2 separate regions of the Homo sapiens genome follow, and region 2 is linked to region 1. The links are contacts of gene promoters, found by promoter capture Hi-C in human tissues and cell types (Jung and others, 2019). All regions are on one chromosome and are shown on one strand. Each heading gives the region's core, a stretch centred on a gene start or on the middle of the fragment in contact. The rest is flanking DNA. Distances are from core to core; before and after follow the strand shown. Region 1 holds the start of PDLIM3 (PDZ and LIM domain 3). Region 2 has its middle 26 kb from the start of TLR3.

Region 1 (3,266 bases), core at 136-2,635:
ACACTCTCTGCAAAGCCTTAGGAACTCATCAAGCCTGGGTGACAGATTAAGACTCTGTCTCCAAAAAAAAAAAAAAAAAACAAAAAGAAAGAACTCATCAGATATTATGTGGATATTGTATAGATATTGGCTACATCTAAATGATGCCAAAATGACCAGCAAAAAGGCAAAGAAAAAATCAGCTGTTTATATAAGCCAGCTCGTGAAGTAAGGTAAAAACAATTACTATAATTACACAACACCAAATGACTTGTCTGATTTTTTTTTTCTGAATGGACCTCTGTGTGTGTGCACGTGTATGTCTGCACCACGCAGACAGAGCCAGCAGCTGACTGAAGAAATGTGCTCTGCAGTGATACAGCCACAGCCCAAACAGGCAGTCAGCAGGACACACAATGTTCAGCTCCTCGATGGTCCAGCATAGATGGGGCACTGGGAAATGTGTGGAGCTAGAAAGTGCTTATCCCCTGGGACTTTTATGTAATCCACCACAGCGGACAAAGTAATGCCCATCCTACCTTTGTGATTTACATTTGCCCAGGCTGGTTCGCTTTGCTTACTGCTTACTGCTTACTGCTTTCTGCATCTCCTTTCTCTTTCCTCCATCAGTCTTAAAACTGCTTCCAAACAGACTGCCCTCTTAAAAGTCTGCTGCAGCTCTGTCCTCCTGGACCAATACGACCCTATCATATGGGGCATTAAGTCCAAGACCCTTATTCTTGAGTGTTTAAAGCATTTCTTATTTCTCTTCCCTCATTCTCCCCTCTCCCTTTGGGAATCACAACATCCCAACGCGTAACACCAGAAATACTTGAGTCCACACTGAGACTACCACAGGACCCCGGCCAGACTCTCCTGCACTTTGGGAGGCTGAGGTGGGAAGATTGTTTGAGCCCAGGAGTTCAAGACTAGCCTGGGCAACAAAGTGGAGACCCGGTCTCTAAGAAAAATAAATAAATAAAATAAAAATTTAAAAGGACATTAAGTAATTTGGCCAAAGCCGCAGAGGTCGTAAGTAAATATTAACGCACTCGAAACTGCTAAATAACTTATTGTATCGATGATGCTCGTTTTAATTGAAAGCATGGAGGCTGTGGTCTGGCTGCTTTCGCTTCCAACAAAGTGCACTGCTGCGCTCCAAGCAGAAGATAAACAGGGAGACAGGTGTGACTTCAAGAGAGCGACGGACGCTGTAACCCGAAGCCCCCGCGCCCGCCGCGGCCCGGGAGGCTGCCCCAGCCGGCCGGGCTGCGCACTCCCGCGGGGCTGGCGCGGCTCTCGCTTCCAAAGTTGGAGCTCTCCGGGGTGGGAGGGGGCGGGGAGGACGGCGGGGCGGTGACGTCACCCCCAGCGGGGATAAAGCGCCCCCGCCCGGGTCGGGGCCAGGACGCCGCCCGGCGCGGAGTGGCTGCCCTGCGCGGGGACACTTAGAGCCCGGTGGGCGGGAGGAAGGCGGCATGCCCCAGACGGTGATCCTCCCGGGCCCTGCGCCCTGGGGCTTCAGGCTCTCAGGGGGCATAGACTTCAACCAGCCTTTGGTCATCACCAGGGTAGGTGTCGGCATTCTTGCTTTTGCTGCGAGGTGGGGACTCCGGCGGCGTCCGGGGGGACGCAGTGGATGCCCCGGGGCCGAGGGCGGCCAGAAAGCGCGCGAGGGCGGGCGGACGGGGCGCTGCTGGCTCCCGGGCTTCGGCGCCCAGCTCCGGGGGCGGCGGCAACTCCGTCAAGTGGCTGCGGAGCGGCTCAGAGATTTGACAAAGTCCGCTCTAAAGGTGTCCCATCCTCTGGGTCCGCAGCGACTTTCCGAGGAGAGCCACTGGGCTCAGGGAAGGCGAGGCTGCCAGGCTCGAGTGCCTCCTCCCCTTTAGGTTTTAAATGTTTTATATGTGATAACAGAAATAAAACACACCCCATCGCCCTTCCGTAACAAATGATGGGTCCCGGGTGGGAGAGGCGAGGGACTGGCACCCCCCGGCATTCCCTGGAGCTGGCGCGCATCTGAGCGTTTTTCTCGTCCGGATGAAAAGTTCAGCAGCGCGCTGTTCGCGGGGCACGACCTGCGTTGGCCAAACTGGAGCCGCTCCTATCAGCCCAGACAGGGGAAGTCTTCCTAATGCTCACTCCTCAGTTTCCAGGCATTTTGAGCACGTTTTCCAAAGCTGAGAACTTGGCTTAGGAATTACCAACTTCTAACTCTAGCTACAAAGAAAACGTGGCAGACAGTTTAGTTTACCTGATGCAAAGTAAACCACTCAGCCTAAAACGGAAAATAATGCTTTAATGTCAAAGTCAAGCTTTACTTGGTGTTCTCTACTGTCTAATGAGAAAACAAGGTAAAAATAAAACCTCAGGGTTTCTCTCCTGTCAGTAAATTTGTAGAATTAATTCTAAAGCATTATTTGGTCTAGCTGGTTTTTTTCTAACACAATGTTTTTCTTCATAGAAAATTAATGTATTATTTCAGTTATCACATATAAAACATTTAATACCTAAAGGCGTAAACTTCCAGAATATTATACTTTTAGTTGCAGAGTATTATACTTTATTTTCTTGTATTCTTCTCATGCCATATTTTATAATTGTATGTGTTATAATCTGATTGATCTGCTCATACAGATTTTGAACAAGGTAATACCTTTTAAATTCTGTTTTATTTATATATGCCTATGAGATTTGGGAACCAACATCCTTTTAAAAATATGTCAAAATGTGTATCCTACAGACGCATACAATGGAACGTTTCAAGCCTTGTTTTACATTTTTCAAAAACATATAAACACATCTGACGTGTTTTTATATGAAACATGAAAACTGTTCAACATACCCCCAAAAACGTTCCTAAGTAAAGTAAGCAGAAAATGCTTCAGTGACCTGGGCCAAGCAATTCCTATTATAGATTTACCAACAAAAACAGTTTCCGTTATATCTACTAAGAAATGTTTTAGTTTCTGGAGTATGGTTTTTATTTAAATTGAATAAGCTTTTGAATCCTAACACAGAATAAATCATATTTATATTAAATTCTAACCAAAATAATTTTGTCACGAAAACTTTTAAGGTGTTTATAAAAGAAATATTTTGCTATTATAGTATAATCGTATGTCAATATAATTAATCATATGCTTGAAATTTTGAGTTGTTGACATTATAAATGTTTATTTTAAAGCAGTACTTACATTCCAGAGTTGGACTACAATAGCTATTGGTAAATATATTTGATATAATGGCAGTTATTATTAGGGAAACCAATTCTATCTGGAATTCCT
Region 2 (3,409 bases), core at 247-2,746, 510 kb before region 1:
CAAAGCAGCCCTGAGAAACATTGCCCATTATTTCTCCATACCATCCCCCAAAATTTTCCAGTCCCAACACTTTACCACTATTTCGTTTTATTTTTCTTATTAATATAAGAAGACAGGAATGTCAGGCCTCTGAGCCCAAGCTAAGGCATCATATCCCCTGTGACCTGCACGTACACATCCAGATGGCCGGTTCCTGCCTTAACTGATGACATTCCACCACAAAAGAAGTGAAAATGGCCTGTTCCTGCCTTAACTGATGATATTGTCTTGTGAAATTCCTTCTCCTGGCTCATCCTGGCTCAAAAGCTCCCCTACTGAGCACCTTGTGACCCCCACTCCTACCTGTCAGAGAACAACCCCCCTTTTTCCTTTACCTACCCAAATCCTATAAAATGGCCCCACCCCTATCTCCCTTCGCTGACTCTCTTTTCGGACTCAGCCCGCCTGCACCCAGGTGAAATAAACAGCCTTGTTGCTCACACAAAGCCTGTTTGGTGGTCTCTTCACACGGACGCGCATGAAAGTGATCCACCTGCGTCAGCCTCCCAAAGTGCTGGGATTACAGGCGTGAGCCACTGCGCCCGGCCCCTTTTGCCATCTTTCCTATGAGTTTACCAAATGTGAAAGTGGTAAAGTAGTCTCTACCTCTGACATCACATGTGGCAGACATTCATATGCATATACACCCAAATATTCACAGTCAGCACACTGTGCATGATGCGGGATAAAGAACATAAATAATCATTGAATATTCTATCATCTGCATCCTTGAAAATCAGCATCTTGTGGAAGAAAGAAGATGCAGATGTACACGGAAGAGTTATTAAAATATGTTGTTCTGGACTTTGGCAATGTTAGTATGAATTCTGTGTGCATGTGTACGTTCATATATGTGTATTTCACAGGTGGGCGGAACCATCATGGTATGAATTCTGTGTGCATGTGTACGTTCATATATGTGTATTTCACAGGTGGGCGGAACCATCATGGTATGAATTCTGTGTGCATGTGTATGTTCATATATGTGTATTTCACAGGTGGGAGGTACCATCATGGTACGAATTCTGTGTGCATGTGTATGTTCATATATGTATATTTCACAGGTGGGAGGTACCATCATGGTACGAATTCTGTGTGCATGTGTATGTTCATGTATGTGTATTTCACAGGTGGGCGGTACCATCATGGTACGAATTCTGTGTGCATGTGTATGTTCATATATGTGTATTTCACAGGTGGGCGGTACCATCATGGTACGAATTCTGTGTGCATGTGTATTTTCATATATGTGTATTTCACAGGTGGGCGGTACCATCATGGTACGAATTCTGTGTGCATGTGTATGTTCATATATGTGTATTTCACAGGTGGGGGGTACCGTCATGGTATGAATTCTGTGTGCATGTGTATGTTCATATATGTGTATTTCACAGCTGGGAGGTACCATCATGGTACGAATTCTGTGTGCATGTGTATGTTCATATATGTATATTTCACAGGTGGGAGGTACCATCATGGTATCAATTCTGTGTGTATGTGTGTGTTCATATATGTGTATTTCACAGCTGGGAGGTACCATCATGGATCTGCGCAAGTGTTTATGGTTGTCAGTGAAACCTTGAAATAATAAACTGCTTCTCAGAATAAATGAGGTGATAAACTTCACGATTCCTTTTTAAAAATCTCACCTCTATTTTAAACTTCGAGTTTGGTCCTTCAAATTCTATTAATGACATTCTAAGTTACATATCCAATTACAAAGAAATTGACTTTCTTTCAGAACATTCACTGAGATTCTTTATATTCACCATTTTCCAACAGTTCAACCATATAGAAGAGCTGAAAAAATTGTACAGGGAACACCCACATACCATTCCTTAGCTTCCACAATTAACGTTTATCGCTTCTCGGCCGTTTGGCTAAGATTAAGTGCACAATTAACGTTTTACTGTATTTGCTTTACCACATAATCATCCATCTATCCATCCCTCTCTTAATCCGTCTTGTTGTTTGATGCATTTGAAAGTAAATTTCAGACATCTATATACTTCACTCCTAGTCTTCCCAAGGCACATCGTTAAGTAGAGTTGGATATTTGTTTAAAGTGTTTTTTAGATAATATTTACATGCAATGAAAATGCATAAATCTTAAGTTTTCACTTGATCAATGTGGATAAATGAACACATCATTAAAATATAGAACGCAGCCTGGGCAACATGGCAAAACCCTGTCTCTACAAAAAAATGCAAAAATTAGCTGGGTGTGGTTGTGCATGCTTGTGGTCCTAGCTACTTGGGAGACTGAGGCAGAAGGATCACTTGACCCAGGAGGTTGAGGCTGCAGTGAACTGTGACCACACCACTGCATTCCAGCATGGACAACAGAGTGAGACCCTGTCTCCAAAAAAAAAAAAAAAAAGAAGAGATAGAAACGTTATTGCTTTGGTCCAGGAAGTTCTCTAGCTCATTCCCTGCCAGTATTCCCCAGACACCTTCTCCCAGAAGCATCTGCTGTTCTGATATCTTTTTTACCACAGGTAAGTTTTTGCCTATTTCTGGAATTTCCAATAGATAGAATAATATATTACGTGGCTTCTTTCACTCAGTATAATGGTATTTGTTTGTTTGTTTGTTTGTTTTTTCTTAGACAGAGTCTCCCCCTGTCACCCAGGCTGGAGTGCAGTGGTGTGATCTCAGCTCACTGCAACCTCTGCCTCCTGGGTTCAAGCAATTCTCCTGCCTCAGCCTCCCAAGTAGCTGGGATTATAGGCACCTGCCACCACACCCAGCTAACTTTTATATTTTCAGTAGAGACGGGGTTTCACCATGCTGGCCAAGCTGGTCTCAAACTCCTGACCTCAGGCGATCTACCCACCTTGGCCTCCCAAAGTTCTGGGATTGCAGGTGTGAGCCACCGCGCCTGGCTCCACTCAGCATAATGTTTTTGAGAGTCGTTCATGCTACCGTTTGTATCAGCAGTTTATTTCTTTCTATTGCTGTGTAGTATTCCCCTGTATAATTCTATAGTTATCCACTCTCCTGTCAGTGATCACCTGTCTTATTTCTAGGTTTCGTGTATTATAAGGAAAGTTGTTGTTGTGAACATTCCTGGGAAAGTCTTTTTGTAACAAAGGTTTTCATTTTCTTAGGTAAACACCTAGGACTGGAATTGCTGGTAGGAACGTCTTTAGTTGTATAAGAGAATGCCAGGCCTTTTGCTAAGTAATCATGCCCTTTCTTACTCCCGTCAAAAATGTAGGCGCCTTCCAATCACTCTACATCTTTGCCCATACTTGTTATTGTCGGTCTTTAGAGTTTAGCCATTCTGGTCGATTGTGATTTAATGTACATTTCCTTGATGACTAATATTGAACATGTTTCCATGTGATCATTGGTATGTCTTTCTTTG

The links. The method cuts DNA at HindIII sites, captures the fragments that hold promoters and counts their contacts. A contact is called where the count stands out against the background at its distance.
Region 2: a fragment that was not itself captured here is called in contact with the fragment with the promoter of PDLIM3 in region 1 in 1 of the 25 tissues and cell types used here (mesendoderm cells).

What each region holds. Positions count from the first base shown.
Region 1 is chr4:185,533,626-185,536,891 of GRCh38, reverse strand. It overlaps PDLIM3 (PDZ and LIM domain 3), which reads left to right and starts at 1,385. Exons shown (of 8, transcript NM_014476.6): 1 at 1,385-1,550. The coding sequence starts at 1,458. The HindIII fragment of the contact is 14,334 bases long and covers 1-2,637 here.
Region 2 is chr4:186,041,135-186,044,543 of GRCh38, reverse strand. No RefSeq gene overlaps it. Among named protein-coding and RNA genes, the nearest start is that of TLR3, 26 kb to the left of the region's middle. The HindIII fragment of the contact is 6,003 bases long and covers 1-3,409 here.